Regions from separate parts of the Homo sapiens genome. Here regions 1, 3 and 4 are each linked to region 2. The links are contacts of gene promoters, found by promoter capture Hi-C in blood cells and fetal thymus (Javierre and others, 2016). All regions are on one chromosome and are shown on one strand. The core of a region is centred on a gene start or on the middle of the fragment in contact, and the rest is flanking DNA. Distances in the headings are between cores, read along the strand shown. Region 1 overlaps ARL1 (ARF like GTPase 1). Region 2 holds the start of DRAM1 (DNA damage regulated autophagy modulator 1). Region 3 has its middle 21 kb from the start of ARL1. Region 4 overlaps MYBPC1 (myosin binding protein C1).

Region 1 (4,576 bases), core at 2,001-4,500, 480 kb after region 2:
TTTTTTTTTTTTTTTTTTTTTTAGACAGAGTCTTGCTCTGTCGCCCAGGCTGGAGTGAGTGGCGTGATCTCCACTCACTACAATTTTCGCCTCCTGGGTTCAAGCGATTCTTCTGTTTCAGCCTTCTGAGTAGCTGGGACTATAGGCTTCTGCCACCACACCCGGCTTATTTTTGTATTTGTAGCAGAGATGGGGTTTCACCATGTTGGCCAGGCTGGTCTCGAACTCCTGACCTCAGCAGTTTGCCCGCCTCCTGATCTGCCAGCCTTGGCCTCCCAAAGTACTGGGATTACAGGCATGAGCCACCGCGCTCAGCCCAGGACTTTTGATTTCTTGAACTACTGACTTAATGGCTTCCAAGTTATAAATTGCAGACTTAATAGTTTTAAACATTTGGTTAATTTTTTTTTTTTTACATCATAGCATTATATTTATTATAAGAGCTTCTTAGACCAAATTTAAATGTAAGGATAAGGTTTAATTGCCTTGGGTATAATAGGTTTTTTAAAGAACAGTTTTATTTAGGTATAATTCACATGATATAGTGTATTTTTATCATATAAAGTATTGCTTAAAAGGAATGGATTATTGACTTCAGTTTACAATTTTTGAGTTGTGCAGGATTGTTGTTACTTGCAGTGTTAGGATTTGACTTATAAAGTCTTACAGAGAAAGAAGTAAAAGTTGGATTCTTTCTTTAGGAAGTCACTTTTAATTCATCAATAAATATCATGTTATGTTAAGTATGGGCCAAGTACGAGTCAGGACTGTTAATGTTAAAACATATAGACACAGGCCAGGTGTGGTGGCTCACGCCTGTAATCCCAGCACTTTGGGAGGCCGAGGCAGGTGGATCACTTCAGGTCAGGAGTTTGAGACCAGCCTGGCCACCCATATCTACTAAAAATACAAAAATGAGCCGGGTGTAGTAGCGCACGCCTGTAATCCCAGCTACACGGGAGGCTGAGGCAGGAGAGTCACTTGAACCCAGGAGGCGGAGGTTGCAGTGAGCTGAGATAGTGCCACTGCACTCCAACCTGAGTGATGGAGTGAGACTCCATCTCAAAACAAACAAACAAAAAATATATAGTATAGACACAAAAGCAGTTTAGGTTTCAACTTTTTTTTTTTTTTTGAGACGGAGTTTCACTATTGTTGCCCAGGCTGGAGTGCAGTGGTGCAATCTCGGCTCACTGCAGCCTCCACCTGCCAGGTTCAAGCAATTCTCCTGCCTCAGCCTCCTGAGTAGCTGGGATTGCAAGCGCACACCACCACACCCGGCTAATTTTTGTAATTTTAGTAGAGACGGGGTTTCACCATGTTGGTCAGGCTGGTCTTGAACTCCTGACCTGGTGATCCACCCACCTCAGCCTCCCAAAGTGCTGGGATTACAGATGTGAGCCACCGTGCCTGGCCTTTCAACTTTCCTATACACAAAAATGAATTCTAAATGGGTAAATAATTAAATGTAAAAAATGAAAATTATAAGAACATATAAGGAATTCAAAAGATGAGATTTAATTATATTAATGTAAACAAAACTCCCCCAAAGCTCAGATATGGCAAATATAAACAAGATTAAGATAAGAAACCAGGCCTAACCAGAAGCCAATGACTAAGGATTAGTGATCTGAATCATAGCAAGATCTTTTGCAAAATGAGCAAAAGGCAATTCGTAGGGGAAAAACATTGCTAATAACATTTGCATTTGTTTTTAAAGAGACAGGGTCAGCAGGGCGCGGTGGCTTATGCCTGTAATCCCAGCACTTTGGGAGGCCGAGGCGGGTGGATCATGAGGTCAGGAGTTCGAGACCAGTCTGAGTGACCAACATGGTGAAACCTCATCTCTACTAAAAATACAAAAATTAGCTGGGCGTGGCAGCGGGCACCTGTAGTCCCAGCTACTCAGGAGGCTGAGGCAGGAGAATCACTTGAACCCAGGATGCAGAGGCTGCAGTGAGCCAAGATTGCACGACTGCAACTTCAGCCTGAGCAACAGAGCGAGACACTGTCTTAAAAAAAGAAAAAAAAAAAAGAGACAGGGTCTCCCTCTGTCCCCTAGGCTGGAGTGCAGTGGCACAACCAAAGCTTGTTATAACCTTGAGCTCCTCTCTCTGCTTCCTTTTTTGTTTGTTTTTTAAAAAAATTTTTGTAGAGACCCCTGTGTTGCTCAGGCTGGTCTCCAACTCCTGGACTTAAGCGATCCTCCTGCCTCAGCCCATGTGCATTTCGAATACCCTAGTAATATATAATGAGATGCTATGTTTGGAAAAGTAAATAATTCCCAACTCTACAAAGGCTGCATTGAAGATGGAGACTTTTATACACTGTTGGTAGGGTAACCTTTCTGGAAAGCTGTTCATGCATGTATTCAGTTTATCAAAGCCTGAAAAAAACTGTTCATACTTTGACTCCATTTTTAGAATATTGTGTTAAGGAAACAGATTTAAACAGAAATTTTTGTATAAAGACCCTGTCACTTGGGTTTATCTAATAGTCTAGTGGAAAGACTCTAATAAGAGTCAGATACTAGAAAATAGTTAACACAGTTTATGGTGCATGCATCCATAGTGTAGAGCATATTTAGCCATTTTTTTATTTTGAAAAAGTTGTTGTAGTTTGGAGAAACATGATTTTAATTTTTAGGCAGGGTATGGAACTATATATAAATGTGATCTTAAATGTGTAAATGTATTTACTAAATAAACTCTGAAGTATCTGCAAAACAAAGTACTAGTAGAAAACACCTAAAATGTTAACAGTGATCATATTTGGGAGGTAGGATTATGAGTGAAGCTTCTTTTCTTTATACTTCTCTATATAATTTCTATATAATTTCATAATGTGTAATATATTAATTATAAAATACACGTTTAAAATGTATTTTTGGACATTTTCTAAACTCGAGAGAGCACATTAGTTAAAAGAAATTAAATATTTTCAATTTCATTTAGGAAGAAGAGCTGAGAAAAGCCATTTTAGTGGTGTTTGCAAATAAACAGGACATGGAACAGGCCATGACTTCCTCAGAGATGGCAAATTCACTTGGGTTACCTGCCTTGAAGGACCGAAAATGGCAGATATTCAAAACGTCAGCAACCAAAGGCACCGGCCTTGATGAGGCAATGGAATGGCAAGTATCATGCTTCCAGAAGCCATCTGTGCATTTGTGTGTGCTTGCAGCTATGCACGTCCACGTGTAATTTTTCTCCCGTGTTGAGGATGAAACTTTGATTTACTTAGCAGCTTATTTCATAAGTTCCTCAAGCGTTTTCTCTCACTGGTCTTCAGGTGCATCTGTCTTCTCAACCACACCTACCTGATTACAGTTACTTAGATAAGCAAATTCTTTGCCAATTTTTAGCCTTTTCCCTGCCTCACCTCACCCTCCAATTCCTTATCCTTCAGGAATTAGCTTAAGACTCTCTTCTGAAGAGCTTTTCCTAATGTATCTCTATTCCTACTGCCTAATCACTCACTTAAAGTTAGATGCCCTTGTCACAGATTAGTGACATAGTACTTGTTTTGCTGTCTTGTAAGTTTGATTTGTTCATCTACTCATTAGATAATCACCTCCTTGAGGATTGAGACTAGTTTCACCTCTGAGTCATCCATATGTAGCCCAGAAGTAGTAGTAGCCTGGAAAATAGGTATTTGGTCTTTTTTGAATTTTTCATTCAAATCATAGACAAATTCAAAGCTTAGAGGAACCTTATGGATATCTAGTGCATAACCTCATCTGTGTTAGCTGTCATCATTTTAAGTACTTTGGAATCCACCTCCAATACAAAGTTTATTATAGATGATCATGCTTTATACCTGAAAATTAATTTTATAAAACAGTTCATTTTCTCTTTACAGGTTAGTTGAAACATTAAAAAGCAGACAGTAATTCAGTCCATTCTTCTCCCCTGAAATGAAGACTACATCACCTCTCTCCCTTTGGAAACAGTCAAGTGTACTTCACACTACTAGATGTTAAAACTATATGATTATTGGCATATACTGACTGACTGCAATATTTGTAGTAAATAGGGAAAATAAGTATTTAGTTGGAGGGATAATTTGATCGAATCACCTGAATGTTCTATGTAATGTAAAATATTCTTTTCTTGCTTTCTTGTGTTAAGGTATATATTCTATTTGTATGGAATTCTTATTCAAATACAGTTCTATTAAAGAGTATACTCCTATTGGATGAAAAAAACCTATTTTTGAATAGTAGTTGCAGCTTGTTTGTATAAATACTAAAAAATATCTTAACAGATTTTTTTCCCCTTAAAATGAATTATCTTTCCAAAGATTAGACTCAGTATGAGAGTAGGTGAGGAACATAGTTTGTGTAATATAATCTTTATTTGCTTACCTGACCACTTTTTATTAAGCTGTTTTGTTTAAAAGCTTTTGGTTATAGGCATGAATATTGTTTTGATGGTTAACTTCACTGACTTATCTGTAAGTGTCATTTTATAGTACTTTACAGTTGTCAAAAAAAATCTTACATATATTGATCTAGTTGATCGGTAGAGGAAGCTTGTGAAGTAGGTAGGACAGGTTATGATGTCTTCACTGTATG
Region 2 (4,198 bases), core at 920-3,419:
GCTGGGATTACAGGCGTGAGCCACTGTGCCCAGCTGAGCAGGTCTTTACTTTTACACAAGTCTAGAAGGATCTATCCTGCTTCAGAAGCAAGATGATGGCACTTGGGCCTGAGATGTGCCATGAGAAACCAAGCCTAGGTTTCTTCCAAGCATAATACCAGATGGGAGGGCCAGGCGTGGTGGCTCACGCCTGTAATCCCAACACTCTGGGAGGCCAAAGCAAGGGGAATGCTTGAGCCCAGGAGTTTAAGACCAGCCTGGGCAATATAGTGAGACTTTGTCTCTACTGAAAATAAAAAATAATAACAATAAATGGAAAAAACCGAAAGGCCAGATGAGAACATCTTGATATACATAACATCTCCTTTCATAGGCAAAAACCACCATCATTACTGCAAATTTGCACTATTCTACCTATTGCTGTATTCCCTGCATCTTGTAAATGCTGGTTCCCTGGGAACACTGGCTCACACCTGTAATCCTAGCATTTTGGGAGGCCAAGGCAAGAGGATCACTTGAGGTCAGGAATTTGAGACCAGCCTGACCAACATAGTGAAACCCTGTCTCTACTAAAAATACAAAAAAATTAAGCCAGGTGTGGTGGTGCACGCCTGTAATCTCAGCTACTTGGGAGGCTGAGGCAGGAGAATCGCTTGAACCCGGGAGGCAGAGGTTGCGGTGAGCCGAGATTGTGTCACTGCACTCCAGCCTGGGCGACAGAACAAGACTCTGTCTCAAAAAAATAAAAAAAATTTTAAAAAATGCTAGTCCCCTCTTGCTCGATCTTTGTTTCCCCTTTCTCCACACTCCTCACCCCCACCCCCAAAAAAAGGAAAAAAACAAACAAACAAACAAAAAAACACAGAACATTGCTCACCAGACAGAATGGCTGCAGGGAAGAAGACGCCCTACATTTTCTATCATAGCAGTAACAAACCTTGGGTGTCACCAACCTTATCATCCGTTCACCAACCAATGCCTGTCCAGAGGGGTCACACTACTTAGATAAGGATGGATGGTTCTAACGTTTAAAGAATCCTGCCACTATGAGAAAGGCACTGAGCTGGAACCCACATAGGAGGATCAGACCACTGTCCCTGGCACTGAAGTGCCCCTCAGGAAGGTAGAGGCCAAAGCACAGGAAAAGTGAATGGGTAAAATAACACAAAAGATGTCACAAGTTGTTGACAAGTTGAGGACTTTGGGGTCACAGTGCCCAGAGGTGTCTGGTGCAGCTCCAGAGAATTTAAGCCAGACTCCCAGAGACCTGGGGGCAGCACAGTGTTGCTTTCTGCATGGCCGGGTGTGAATTCTGCTCCTACCATTAACTAGTGTGACATCAGTGTCACGTTGATGATATTTCATCAACTTTACACCACCGCTCGCTTGCGGGAATAATAAGCCCAAACATCCACTTCAAGGGATGTTGGGATGCAGAAGTGAAAATAGTGGCTGTTTAGCATATACCTGGATCTACCTCTTGTATAATATATGTCATCTATCAGAACCCATCTTGTTTCAATATCGCCTAAGAACGTCCTGCTGAGATTCTGTCCCATACCCAGAATGAAAGCTCTACCATCTATCCTGAACCTCTCCTTGCTGCCACCCTGTTCCATGCTCCGGGTACAGGCAGAAGTGCTCAGCGCCGCACCCGCTGCCTCCCTAAACATCCCAGGCTATCGGGAGCACCTCTCCTCCTGCTCCCACCTCTGCCTGACCACACGACGCCCCAAGCTGGGTCCGGACGCCTTCCCTCCCCGTCGGCAGCGCTCCCTGTGGTCCCTGTGCCTGCTCCTGGGGCCCTGACGCCCACCCTGCCACTCACCTGATATACGGGAGGAAGGGGTTGACGTGCCCGGAGAGCACGGCGACCACGTAGGAGATAATGAAGGCGGCTGACGACCAGGTCACCAAGAGGAAGGGGACGAAAGCCATTCCCCTCAGGAAGCACAGCATCGCGCCGCCGCCGCCGCCGACGGAGTGCTGCGCCCAGCGGGGCCGGGCGCCGGGTTGCTCCGGGCTGCCTGGAGGCGGCGGCCGGGCGCGTACACTCACGGACGGTGGGAGGGGAGGCTCCGCGACGGCCGGGGCAGGCCCAGCCCCGGAGGGAGGGGAAGCGCGAGGAGCGGAGCGAGGCTGCGGGCGGCGAGGCTGCCGGGCCAGAGTGGGTGGGGCGCGGGCTGCCCGGGCTTGTTGCGAAACGAGTGAAGTCACAAAGCGGCCCGGCAGGGTCGGAGGCGCCCGGCGAGCTCCAAGCGGACGCGACTACGGAGCCGCCGGAGGGGACGCGGGGTCGGGTTCCTTTCGCTTTTGGTTTGGACACTCGGCGGAGGCCGGGTTGGGCGCGGACGGGCGGCGTGGGGTCACTGGCGGGGACGCCCGCTCTGGCCTTCCCACTCTGGCCCTACCGCGCTGGCTCTTGCGCAACTCTGGAGAAAAGGATTTATTTCTCCCAACCCCTCCCTCCCGGGGGATTTCCGGAGTGCCGGGCCTCGCACCCCGAGGGCGCCCCCTCCGAGGTCCCGCCGCCGGCGCTTCGCAGCAGTGAGAGTGGCCACCGCGTGGTGACACCCATGCCATCCGGTCGCGCTGCTGCTGCGGGGGTCGGGCAGAAGTGTTCAATGAGGTTCGCCAGGTCACGGGGCGCAGATGTGGCTCCCACCTCAATGGTGAACACCCGAAAACCCAGACAGGGTGGGAACGGGTGGGGTGGAGAGTACGCGGGTGGGGTGCGGGGCAGGCGGGTGGGACTGCGCGCCCACGGAGCCGGGAGGCCCATTGTGCTGCTTTCCAGGAGAGCGCAACTGGAGAATATTTCCTGGAAATAAGATTTCCCAGGCCGGGCGCCGTGAATAGCCATCACTTTGGGAGGCATCCAAAAGCCATCACCCCTGGAATGCCACCACTTTGGGAGGCCGAGTTGGGAGGATCGCTTGAACCCAAGAACTAGAGATCAGCCTGGGTAACATAGCGAAACCCCTCTTCTACAAAAAAAAAAAAAAAAAATGAAAAAGAAAAAAAGCCGGTTCCAGTTACTCGGGAGACTGAGTTGGGATGATCACTTGAGCCTTGGGGGTCGAGGCTGCAGTGAGCCTTTATCACACCACTTCACTCGGCCTGGGTGACAGAGCAAGACCTTGTCTCAAAAAACAAACAAACAAAAAAAAAACAAAAAAAACTCCCCTCCAGGTTCTGGAGTAGCCCAGACTCGGAGCCTTGGCCTAAGATGATTAATAGTGACTTGATACATTTCAAGCCCTGTGAAAGGGATTTGTGTTCTGGAGGCACTTATAATATAAGCACATGATTTTGATAGTTTAGGGAGTCTGAGCCCAACATATGTGGCCAAAATTGTTGGGTCATTGGTGACCAAAGATAGGTTCCTTTCAGCCACAAACACATTTCATGGGCGCCATGCTAGGCTACAAAGATGAAATAGTAATAGTACCCTCAGGACGAGGACACTCATAGATCAAAATAACAAAATTAGGCCAGGCGTGGTGGCTCATGCCTGTAATCCTAGCACTTTGGGAGGCCAAGGTGGGTGGATCACCTGAGGTCAGGAGTTCGAGACCAGCCTGGCCAACATGGTGAAACCCCATCTCTACTAAAAATACAAAAAATTAGTCAGGCATCATGGCTCACGCCTGTAATCCCAGCTACTCAGGAGGCTGAGGCAGGAGAATCGCTTGAACCTGGGAAATGGAGGTTTTCTCAGTGAGCTGAGATCACACCACTGCATTTCAGCCTGGGTGAGAGAACGAGACTCTGTCTCAAAAATATAAATAAATAAAAACAAAATTATGTTATGTGGTTTATTAAATGGAAAGGAGAGGATTTTAAAAAGTAGAGACATGCCCAGAGCTGAGGGCCAGGGGCCTGGGCTCAGAGGAAGGACCACGGAGGTTTTCTGACAGATGACATCAGAGTTTTCAAAAGGAAGTAATTACTAACCAGGCAAAGAAAAATAAGATTAGCATTCCAGGCCCAGAAAACAACTGGAGGAAATGCATACACAGAGCTTGCTTCCCTGGGACTATGAAAGCACTTAAATAAGTGTGAGGCAGCAAATGGAGAGAGAAACAAAGAGGCAAAGTCACCAGAGTCCTGCTGAGAATCTTGGATTATTTTTGGTATTAAGGAGAAAGTAAGAACATGGGCAGACTAGTATTTCAAGAGATCACTGTGGCCGTGG
Region 3 (4,709 bases), core at 2,066-4,565, 450 kb after region 2:
AGAACTTCCTTATTTTAACTTTAAGATTAAAACAACTTCTCTATATCAATAATAAAGATTCTTTGTCTTTCAACAGGCAGAAAGTCCACTTCATTATTTGGTATGCAGCATGATATTTAGTATAAAGCAGATTGTTTGACCAAGCTGTTGAAATCATGATATAATAACAAATCATACTCTATGGACAAATCTTTTATGCAATATGATGCTAATTTCTCATGCATAATATATTGTGTGTATTTGGCTTTGAAAAGTGAGACAAAAACAGCAGTAGCAAATGCCAGTGTTTCAGAAGCTAAAGAGAAATTTGAAATTTAATATCAACATTTATTTTTAATATCGTTAACTTTTGAATGGATCAAATTATTGCTTAGCTTGGACTGCCTCATTTGAATAGGCTGGGGAAATTCCAAATTGGCAGTTTCCTCTATGTTCTGGAAAACAATTTTATAAAATACTGAAACATTTGATATCTCTCTGGAGCACCAATGCTATAGTAAATTATTCATTCATTCATTCATTTATTCAACAAAACTTGCAACTTACTATACCTGAGCCACTGTGGTAAGCCTCCTAGGAAAGAAAAAAATATATATAACTGGTTACTTGTGTACATAATGATAAGCAACAATTAATAGTTGTAGGTGATTAGTGTAACATTCCAAGTGCCAGCAATGGATACTATAATATAATAAAGATGGGGGGAATTGGGGAACTAGAGTAGTAATGGAAGGCTTTGCCCAGGAGAAAGAGCTTGAAAAGGTGAGTTGGATTTATATGGAGGGAAATGAATAGAGAAAGCATCTCAGGAAAGAGAAGCAATATACAGAACTTTATAGCATCAGTCATGAAAAAGACAATAAATAGACCAGAGAACATAGAACTTCGTAATTACTTCAATAGTTGTCTTAGTCTGTTTTCTGTTGCTTAAAACAGAATAACTGAAAGTGGGTAATTTATAAGAAAAGGAATTTATTCCTTATAGTTATGGAGGCCGAGAAGTCCAAGGTCAAGGGACCATATCTGGTGAGAGCCTTCTTGCTGGTGAGGACTCTCTGCAGACTCCCAAGGCTGTGCAGGATGTCTCATGGTAAGGGGACTGAGTATGCTAGCTCAGGTGTCTCCCTTTTCTTAGAAAGCCACCAGTCCTACTCTCATAATAATCCATTAATTCATGAATCCGTGAATCCAGAAATGGATTAATTCGTCATGAAAGCAGAGCCCTCATGGCCCAGTCACCTCTTAAAGGCCCCACTTCTCAATACTGCCACACTGGGGATTAAATTTCAACATGATCTTTGAAAGGTAGAAAAAGGTACAAATATTCATGCATTAGCATCCCCTGGGAGCTTGTAGAAATGCAGAATCACAGTCTGATTGTGCATGTTCAAGGTCTTTGGTGCTTTTTTTGTTTGTTTTTTTGTTTTGTTTTTTTAGAGATGCAGTCTCGCTCTGTCACCCAGGCTGGAGTGCAGTGGCACCATCTCGGCTCACTGCAAGCTCCACCTCCAGGTTCACGCCATTCTCCTGCCTCAGCCTCCCGAGTAGTTGGGACTACAGGCGCCCGCCACCACGCCCAGCTAATTTTTGTATTTTTAGTAGAGACGGGGTTTCACTCTGTTAGCCAGGATGGTCTCGTTCTCCTGACCTCGTGATCTACCTGCCTCAGCCTCCCAAAGTGCTGGGATTACAGGCTTGAGCCACCTCGCCCGGCCAGGTGCTTTGTATGTAGACATTAAAGTCTGAGGAGTTTCACTCTTGACCAATCCTTCATTTTGCAGAGGAATCTGAACCACAGAGTGGCTGGATGGCTTTCCCAATGGTAATGGCAAACCTCACTATAGAAGCAAAATCTACAGAGTCCTGGAAACAGTGAGTTTCCCCCCGATTCCACAATGTTTGACTGAACTGGAGAGAGGTAGTCAGTTGGATCTGATTATGGAAGTATCTGAATGCTAAGTTAAGAAATTCAAGCCTCATCCTTCATGAATTCAACAAACATTTATTGAACTCCAGTGTGGTAGCACTGGAGATACAGAGAAGAATAAGAAAGACGCTGCCCTTAAAAAGTTAGCCTTCTAAAAAAGTAAGTAACTGCTATTATTTAAATGTTCCTGCCAAAACTCATGTTCAAATGTAATTGCCAGTCGGGCGCGGTGGCTCACGCCTGTAATCCCAACACTTTGGGAGGCCGAGGTGGGCGGATCACGGGGTCAGGATTTCGAAACCAGCCTGGCCAATATGGTGAAACCCTGTCTCTACTAAAAATACAAAAATTAGCTGGGTGTGGTGATGGGCGCCTGTAATCCCAGCTACTTGGGAGGCTGAGTCAGGAGAATTGCTTGAATCTGGGAGGAGGAGGTTGCAGTGAGCTGAGATCACACCATTGCACTCCAGCCTGGGTGACAGAGTGAAACTCCAACTCAAAAAAAAAGTGTCATTGCCATTATAACAGTATTAAGAGGTGCTGTTAGCTGGGCACAGAGGCTCATGCCTGTAATCCCAGCACTTTGGAAGGCTGAGGCAGGAGGATCACTTGAGGCCGGGAGTTTGAGACCATCCTTGGCAACATAGCAAGACCTTGCCTCAAAACAAAACAAAACAAAAAAGAGGTGCTTTCTCTTTTTTTTTTTTTTTGAGATGGAGTCTTGCTCTGTCACCCAGGCTGGAGTGCAGTGGTGTGATCTCGGCTCACTGCAAGCTCCGCCTCCCAGGTTCACACCATTCTCCTGCCTCAGCCTCCCAAGTAGCTGGGACTACAGGCACCCGCCACCACGCCTGGCTAATTTTTTTGTATTTTTAGTAGAGACGGGGTTTCACTGCATTAGCCAGGATGGTCTCAATCTCCTGACCTCGTGATCCGCCTGCCTCGGCCTCCCAAAGTGCTGGGATTACAGGCGTAAGAGGTGCTTTCTTTAAGAGGTAATTCAGTCACGAGAGCTCTGCCATCATAAATGGATTAATGCTATTATCTCAGGAGTGGGCTCCTGATAAAGGATGAATTCAGTTCTATTTCTCCTCTTGTTCTCATAAGCTTGCTTAACCTTCTGCCATGTTATGATGCAGCACAAAGGCCTCGCCAGAGGCAATGCCAAGCTCTTGGACTTTCCAGTCTCCAGAACTGTGAGAAATTAATTTGTTTTCTTTATAAATTACCCAGCCTGTGGTATTCCATTATAGCAGCAGAAAACTGATTAAGATAGTAACCAACAATTACGAACATCCTTGGCAATGAGTTTTAAAGGTTTCTAATAGAGAAATTAACATGATATATTCTGTGAACATGTATTGAGTACCTAGTACAGGACAGACTTTATTAGATGCAAAGTGGTGGTATTCAAAGGTATTTGAGGGTGAGGAAAAATAGGCTACTGTCCGAGAGTAGGAGATAAAGGATGAATGAACAAGATTTGGTCACTGTGAGGCCAGAGAAAGGCCCTCTGCATTAACCCATAGGTGGCAAGGAGAGGTAGAATTTGGCTCATTGAGCAGAGAAATAAGAAAGTTGGGAGAGTAAATCAGATTTTTAGAGTTGTGTTTGTTTTACTTTTTAGTTAGCAAAAAGGTATGTTTGGTTTTAGACATATGAAGCTTGAGTGAATATCCCATAAAGAACTCTCTAGTAAGTAGTTGGAGATTCAGAACAGAAGCTTGAGAGAAAATCAGGACTGGAGAAAGGGTTCATCAGATGTTTTTGTTCATAAGAATCCATTTTCTTTGGGAGGCTGAGGCAAGAGGATTGCTTGAGCCTTGGAGTTCAAAGCTGCAGTGAGCTATGATAGTGCCATACATCCCAGCATGGGTGACAGAAGGAGACCCTGTCTCTTAAAAAAAAAAAAAAAGAAAGAAAGAAAAAAAGGCCAACAGTTCATTTTAATCACTGGTAAGTCAATAGGACTGATTGGGCAGTTTCAAGTTGTTGATTGGTTAGATATATTTCATTTGCTTTTATTTATTTATTTAGAGACATGGTGTCACTCACTGGTGCAGCCTCAATCTCCCCAGCTCAAGTAATCTTCCTGCCTCATCGTCCCAAAGTGCTGGGACTACAGGCATGCACCACCACGCCTGGCTTTGTTTGCCTTTAAATAAAGTTCCAAAGCCTTTGCTTTCTCAGCTACAACTAACACAGTTATGTTTAATTATAACAATCGTTATGTCACTTTTGGGACTCAGAAAACAATATCTGGCTGAGTATAGTCGCTTATGCTTGTAATCCAGCACTTTAGGAGGCTGAGGCGGGCGATTGCTTGAGGCCAGGAGTTCAAGATCAGCCTGGGTAACACAGCAAGACTCTGTCTCTACAAAAACAAAAACAAAATAGCCAGGCATGGTGGCATGTGCCTGTAATCCTAGCTACTTGAAGGCTGAGGCAGGAGGATCACTTGAGGCCAGGAGTTTGAGACCAGCCTGGCAACATAGTGAGACCCCGTCTCTACAAAAAAAATTTAGAAATTAGCTGGATGTGGTGGTGTAGTAGTTTCAGCTACTTGGGAGGCTGAGGTGGGAGGTTCGTTTGAACCTGGGAGGCTGAGGCTGCAGTGAGCCGAGATCATGCCACTGCACTCCAGCCTGGGTGACAGAGTGAAACCCTGTCTCTTAAAAAAAACACAATACCCCCAAAATGAAGGCCTCAGAAGCAAAACTTTTTGTCTTTCTCCTGATGTTCTTTCAGTCTCATTCTCCCCAAAAACTAGCCATAGAAACCA
Region 4 (4,705 bases), core at 1,079-3,578, 260 kb after region 2:
CATAGGATGTTCATCCTCCTACCCAGCACACATGTTGAATGGAAATAAAAATCTATCCAGATTACCATTGAATGGTCAGCAGCTAAGCCAGCATGGAAATTCAACTGCTCATTCATTTTGCAAGTATTCATTAGATGATTGCTATGTGCAGCTCTCTGCCAGATGCTGGAGGGAATAAGATGAGGGGGCCAATGTCAAAAAGCTTACAACCTGTTAGGAAAAGGAGTCAACCATTAATGTGCGATTATGTGGAGACAAGAGTGATTGAATGATGGAGGCAACAGGTCCAAGAGAAATCAGGAGAAAGAAGGGGAGATAAAAGTAAGCCAGGATGGTCAGGAGAAAGCTGTTCAAAGAAGTGAAACCTGAGTTGGATGGTTAAAAAAAAAAAATAGACTGACAGTTGGAGGAGGGAGGGAGAGCAGGAGAGTTCTAGCTCATGCTGGAGAAAAGGTAGGTTGCACCCATCAATCCTGTTTATGCTCGTGCAGGGCTCCTTTCTCAACTGGGGATATCCAAGTAGCAGTAATTATTGTGTCTACTTTTTGCATAGGTATTTTCTCTGTCCTTGATGAAGAGGACTGTATATTTATTATAAACTTCCATTCACTTACCTTCTTTATTTAGGGATGTCACTTTCTATCCCAAATTGATTTGCTTCCTAGGTATGTAAGGCAAATACATATATATATACATGTATTTGCCATTATATAATATATATACAGACACACACACACACACACACACACACACACACACACACACGGCAGTTTTTGTACCTGGGCATGCAACTGCATGTGGTCATGGTTTTGCTTATCTTCTGCAAACGTCAGAAAAATGCTACTAATTTCAAAATGCCCTAGTCATCTAGCCTTGCTCTTTCATCACGCTGTGTTCTCCATAAATAAAAGAGTTTTTGTTGGTTGGTTGACTTTAAGGAAAGACATTTTCTCATTTAAGCATACAAGTATAATATGGTGACTTTTCAAATTAAGGGTCAGGCACAGGCTTTGTTTAAACTTTGACAGCTTGCCCTCTGGGATTACATCATCTGCTCTGTTGGTTGAGCCTTGCAGCCTGGCCCAAACACCTTTCCAAATTTGGAAACAGAGGTGTATGCCCATTGGCCTTGTAGAGAATAATATTACAATAATTTCAGCCAGGATGCCCAAACCTCCTTGAAACCATCCCATGGAAGGAGTTCTAGGAGTTTGCACTGTCTGCATTCCATAAGCAAATAACCTTCAAACTGCGCCCACGTGGCCAGGATTAGTATTCATGTTACTCTCCATGGGAGCCACTGAAGGTCAAGGACAAAGTGAGTATACTAACGTTATGCGTTCATTATGAGAGCATAAGTTCAAGTTAGCTGAAGGAAAGTAATCCAATCTACTGAAAGAAAGAAAAAAGTATTTTACTAATGTATAGGACACAAGAATATCATAGAAATTAGATAATGAAATATGACACATCAAGAACAAAGAGATACTTAACATGGTTTTGAGCAGTGTCCAGGAAAAAGAGAAACTTCTTGTTGCAGTCAGGAAATAGTTATTCCAAAATTTAAACTTTTTTATTCATTATGCAAATAAAAGGTTCACTTTTAAAATGACAATACAAACATATACAGCAAAGCTGTCTAATCCACCTTCATGAAACTTCCCTCTATGAAAGACTAATGCTCCTTAGCTTAAGACAGATGGTCAGTAATGATAATCATTTCTTCCATGGTGAGACAAAGGAATTAGCATTTCATGGAGTAACAGAAGTATATGATTAAGATTATTTTCTAAAATGAGACTATCTCCATATAAAGTAAAAATAGGATAATATTACAGGAATAGTTTCCAGTTCAAGAAGGGGCAACATGTCTTCTTAATGTTATATTGTGTATCTGTAGAAATCATTATATAAATCTACATGAATACATAGTCAGTGTTACAAAGTGAGATGCTAGCCTTCAAAATTATTAGTGAACCCTGGAACAGTTCACACAATAACATGAAAACATTTAATTTAAAAAAAAACCGGGTAATTCAGATAATTTTCCCAATTGATATAATCCTAAGAAGACCAAACACCTCTCTTTCTTAGCATGCATGTCGAAACTTGGAAACTACCAATTAATTTGCTGGCATCTCAACAAGTGCTTGTGATATTTTTATCATTGTTGTTTTTCTTTTAGAAATACATGTAATGGAAACTTAGCAATGCACCATTTGTCATTATACTGATTGGGACTTGCAGATAAGATGCAAAGGCAGAACGAAAGATAATGCAGAGAAATTCTATGGAGCCACCATGACAATCATTACTGACTTCTTTCTGCTTCTAATTTTGTTGACTTCAGCCTCACTCTCCCTCCCTCCAACTCACCTTTTGCTGGTGTAGTTCCGGCCTCCTTCTCTTTACTTGGTTCTGTGTAGAAAGTACAAGCATATTTTTTAAAGTGCCTTAAAGCATTTTATTGTGTGATGAGCAACGGGGTGGAGAGGGGGAGGGAAGAAATAAATGACAGCAGAACAGGTCATAAATGATACTGAATACTCGTGCTGTACATGAATTATGAATTTAGAAATTATAACTTAGAGCCACACTAAACTTTTAGTGAAAAGCAATTAATCTGATCATTTTTGGAAAAGTACACATAAGAACACTCAATACAGATTTTGTTAAAATGCACTCAACTATACTTGGATCATGTTATATAACATGCTGGAGTAGAATTAGGCAAAACAAATGTGAGCCACTTTATTTTAGACCTCAGCAAGGGACTGACTTTTTAAAGAAAAGTCAGTTTGCCCCATGTAATGATTCCAAGAGTTTGGACTTCTAGATTTTCTAGTAAAGTACAAAATATGTAATTGTGTGCAGTGTATGTTGCTTCAAAGAAAATGTTTCAGTGTCCATGTGAATCTTCTGGATTGGGTTTAGTGGCAATAAATGCAAAACAAGAGCAGTAACATCAGATTCTACCAGTTGAGACCATCTAGTTTGCATTTCTCTGTGTTTGGGATCATATTAGTTTAGACCTGCAAATGGTATCTGACTTATGGAATCAGTAAGAAAAGAATTGTTTCAAGAATGCATTCTCTTTTTTCGGACTGATGAATGGAGATTCAAATCTCAGTTAACTAAGAAGGACAATTTTAGCAGAATTTGGGAGGAGACATTTGAGCAACAGGAAGTCAATATTGTGCAATGAATATGAAATATGACATACAAAGGAAACGATAGTGGCTCAGTGGCAGTAACTGATCTGAAAAACAGAAGGGAAAGGTTTGTTTATAATGGCCAGTAGGTTCTCAGTGTACTCAATGTTGGTCAAAGTACATTTGTTATGGGCAAGGAGAAAACATACCAAGGAACAGGAAGATCCTAAGAAGAATGTCACACATCTACACTAGTTTCAAGATCAAGATCTAAAGAAAATAAATCTGAGCTTTCCCGTTTGAACTCATATGGCACTGAGCCAGTTTTCGTTCATTTCGACACATAGTAATACTTCTCTATACTGTTTAGGGTTTGAGTGTGTGAATCTAGTATTCTTAGCTGGACAAAGGGCCTCTTGTGAGCAGCTAGATTTCTCAAACTGCCCTCCTGAAAAACAATCTCTGCTTGCGCCCAAGAGTTTGAGGCTGCGGTGAGCTGTGATGGTGCCACTGCGCTCCAGCTTGGATAACAGAGCAAGACCCTGTCTCAAGAAAGAGAAAGAAAAGAAAAAAGAAAACAAAGAAAAAAGAAAAACGATCTCCAGGGAGGAAGAGGAAGAGCTTTATAATTGCCTCATAAGTTTTTGTGTGAAAAGATGATTAGAAACTGAGACCTTCTCCAAACTCCTGCTTTCACCTAAGCTGGACCAGGTCTACAGTCACCTGCTGGCTTCATAACACATTGCCAGTTTAAGCAACTCACAAGTAATCACATACTGCTTGGTGTGGGGGGGCGGGGGGGGGGCGGGGGGTTCTTATAATATTGCCTAATGTTTTAATGTTTTGGCTGCATTTTATTTAATTGTTTCCCAGGCTGTATTCTATTTTCTACTTGGCTGCAAACAAACTGAATACAGGGAGATGTTTTCTATGTAGAGTTCCCCACTACATCTGGTACAATATGCTTGCACCTAGCTATCAATACGTACATGATAGGTATGTCTGAATCCCTCTGAAGGGTTAGGTCAGAGTTGTGCACAGGGTAAATACCTAGTGAATAATTATTGAGTGGGATGCCAGTTTCTCATCCTTTTCAAGGAGGAAGAGGGATGAGGAAGGCCACTTTGGAGTCTTTATGGGAAAATGCACATGATTTTGGTTGCTTCCATCTTGGGGCTATTTGGCTGATAAATGACTCTGAAGAGCCATGTTGGGAGTTTAAGCCACATTGAGCTTTCAATCTTTTAATCTTTTAATTTTCTTTTCTTCTTTAGGTGTATGTGGACATAAAAACAAGCTTCATATATTGTGTGTCATAGGGGACTGCCCTACCTGCCAAGGGTCTCACTGGATCTCTGTACTCATTTCCTGTTGCCAGCTGGTGGACAATATGGTGCTAAGAACTCAAGAAGTTGGTCCTCACGTTGAACCTCAGAGGTCACCAAACCTTTCTGGATAGCTGCTAGGGAGTTTCTGGAGGTGCTCAATAGTGACATATGTCAAGTTGAGAAGGGACAGCTGATCTTCCAGGGTAGAGATGGATCCACTCCCCA

The links. Contacts are between HindIII fragments. The CHiCAGO score rates a contact against its expected background, and 5 or more counts as called.
Region 1: a contact is called between a fragment that was not itself captured here and the fragment with the promoter of DRAM1 in region 2, in 2 of 17 cell types (monocytes and total CD8 T cells). The highest score is 8.1, in monocytes.
Region 3: a contact is called between a fragment that was not itself captured here and the fragment with the promoter of DRAM1 in region 2, in 1 of 17 cell types (monocytes). The highest score is 5.7, in monocytes.
Region 4: a fragment that was not itself captured here is called in contact with the fragment with the promoter of DRAM1 in region 2 in 1 of 17 cell types (monocytes); the score reaches 5.5 in monocytes.

Annotation. Positions count from the first base shown.
Region 1 is chr12:101,394,956-101,399,531 of GRCh38, reverse strand. ARL1 (ARF like GTPase 1) reads left to right here. Exons shown (of 6, transcript NM_001177.6): 5 at 2,955-3,133; 6 at 3,862-4,576. The coding sequence ends at 3,892. Among named protein-coding and RNA genes, the nearest start is that of ARL1, 11 kb to the left of the region's middle. The HindIII fragment of the contact is 904 bases long and covers 2,799-3,702 here.
Region 2 is chr12:101,875,551-101,879,748 of GRCh38, reverse strand. DRAM1 (DNA damage regulated autophagy modulator 1) reads right to left here and starts at 2,169. Exons shown (of 7, transcript NM_018370.3): 1 at 1,829-2,169. The coding sequence starts at 1,959. RefSeq lists enhancers at 1,283-1,332, 1,473-1,562, 1,201-1,982, 2,143-2,192, 1,983-2,765 and silencers at 1,783-2,122, 2,373-2,532. The HindIII fragment of the contact is 18,310 bases long and covers 1-4,198 here.
Region 3 is chr12:101,425,933-101,430,641 of GRCh38, reverse strand. No RefSeq gene overlaps it. Among named protein-coding and RNA genes, the nearest start is that of ARL1, 21 kb to the right of the region's middle. The HindIII fragment of the contact is 557 bases long and covers 3,037-3,593 here.
Region 4 is chr12:101,614,915-101,619,619 of GRCh38, reverse strand. MYBPC1 (myosin binding protein C1) reads right to left here. Exons shown (of 32, transcript NM_002465.4): 3 at 2,377-2,418. It overlaps LOC105369938 (a long non-coding RNA gene), which reads left to right and starts at 3,836. Exons shown (of 5, transcript XR_001749279.2): 1 at 3,836-3,917; 2 at 4,427-4,705. The HindIII fragment of the contact is 4,247 bases long and covers 205-4,451 here.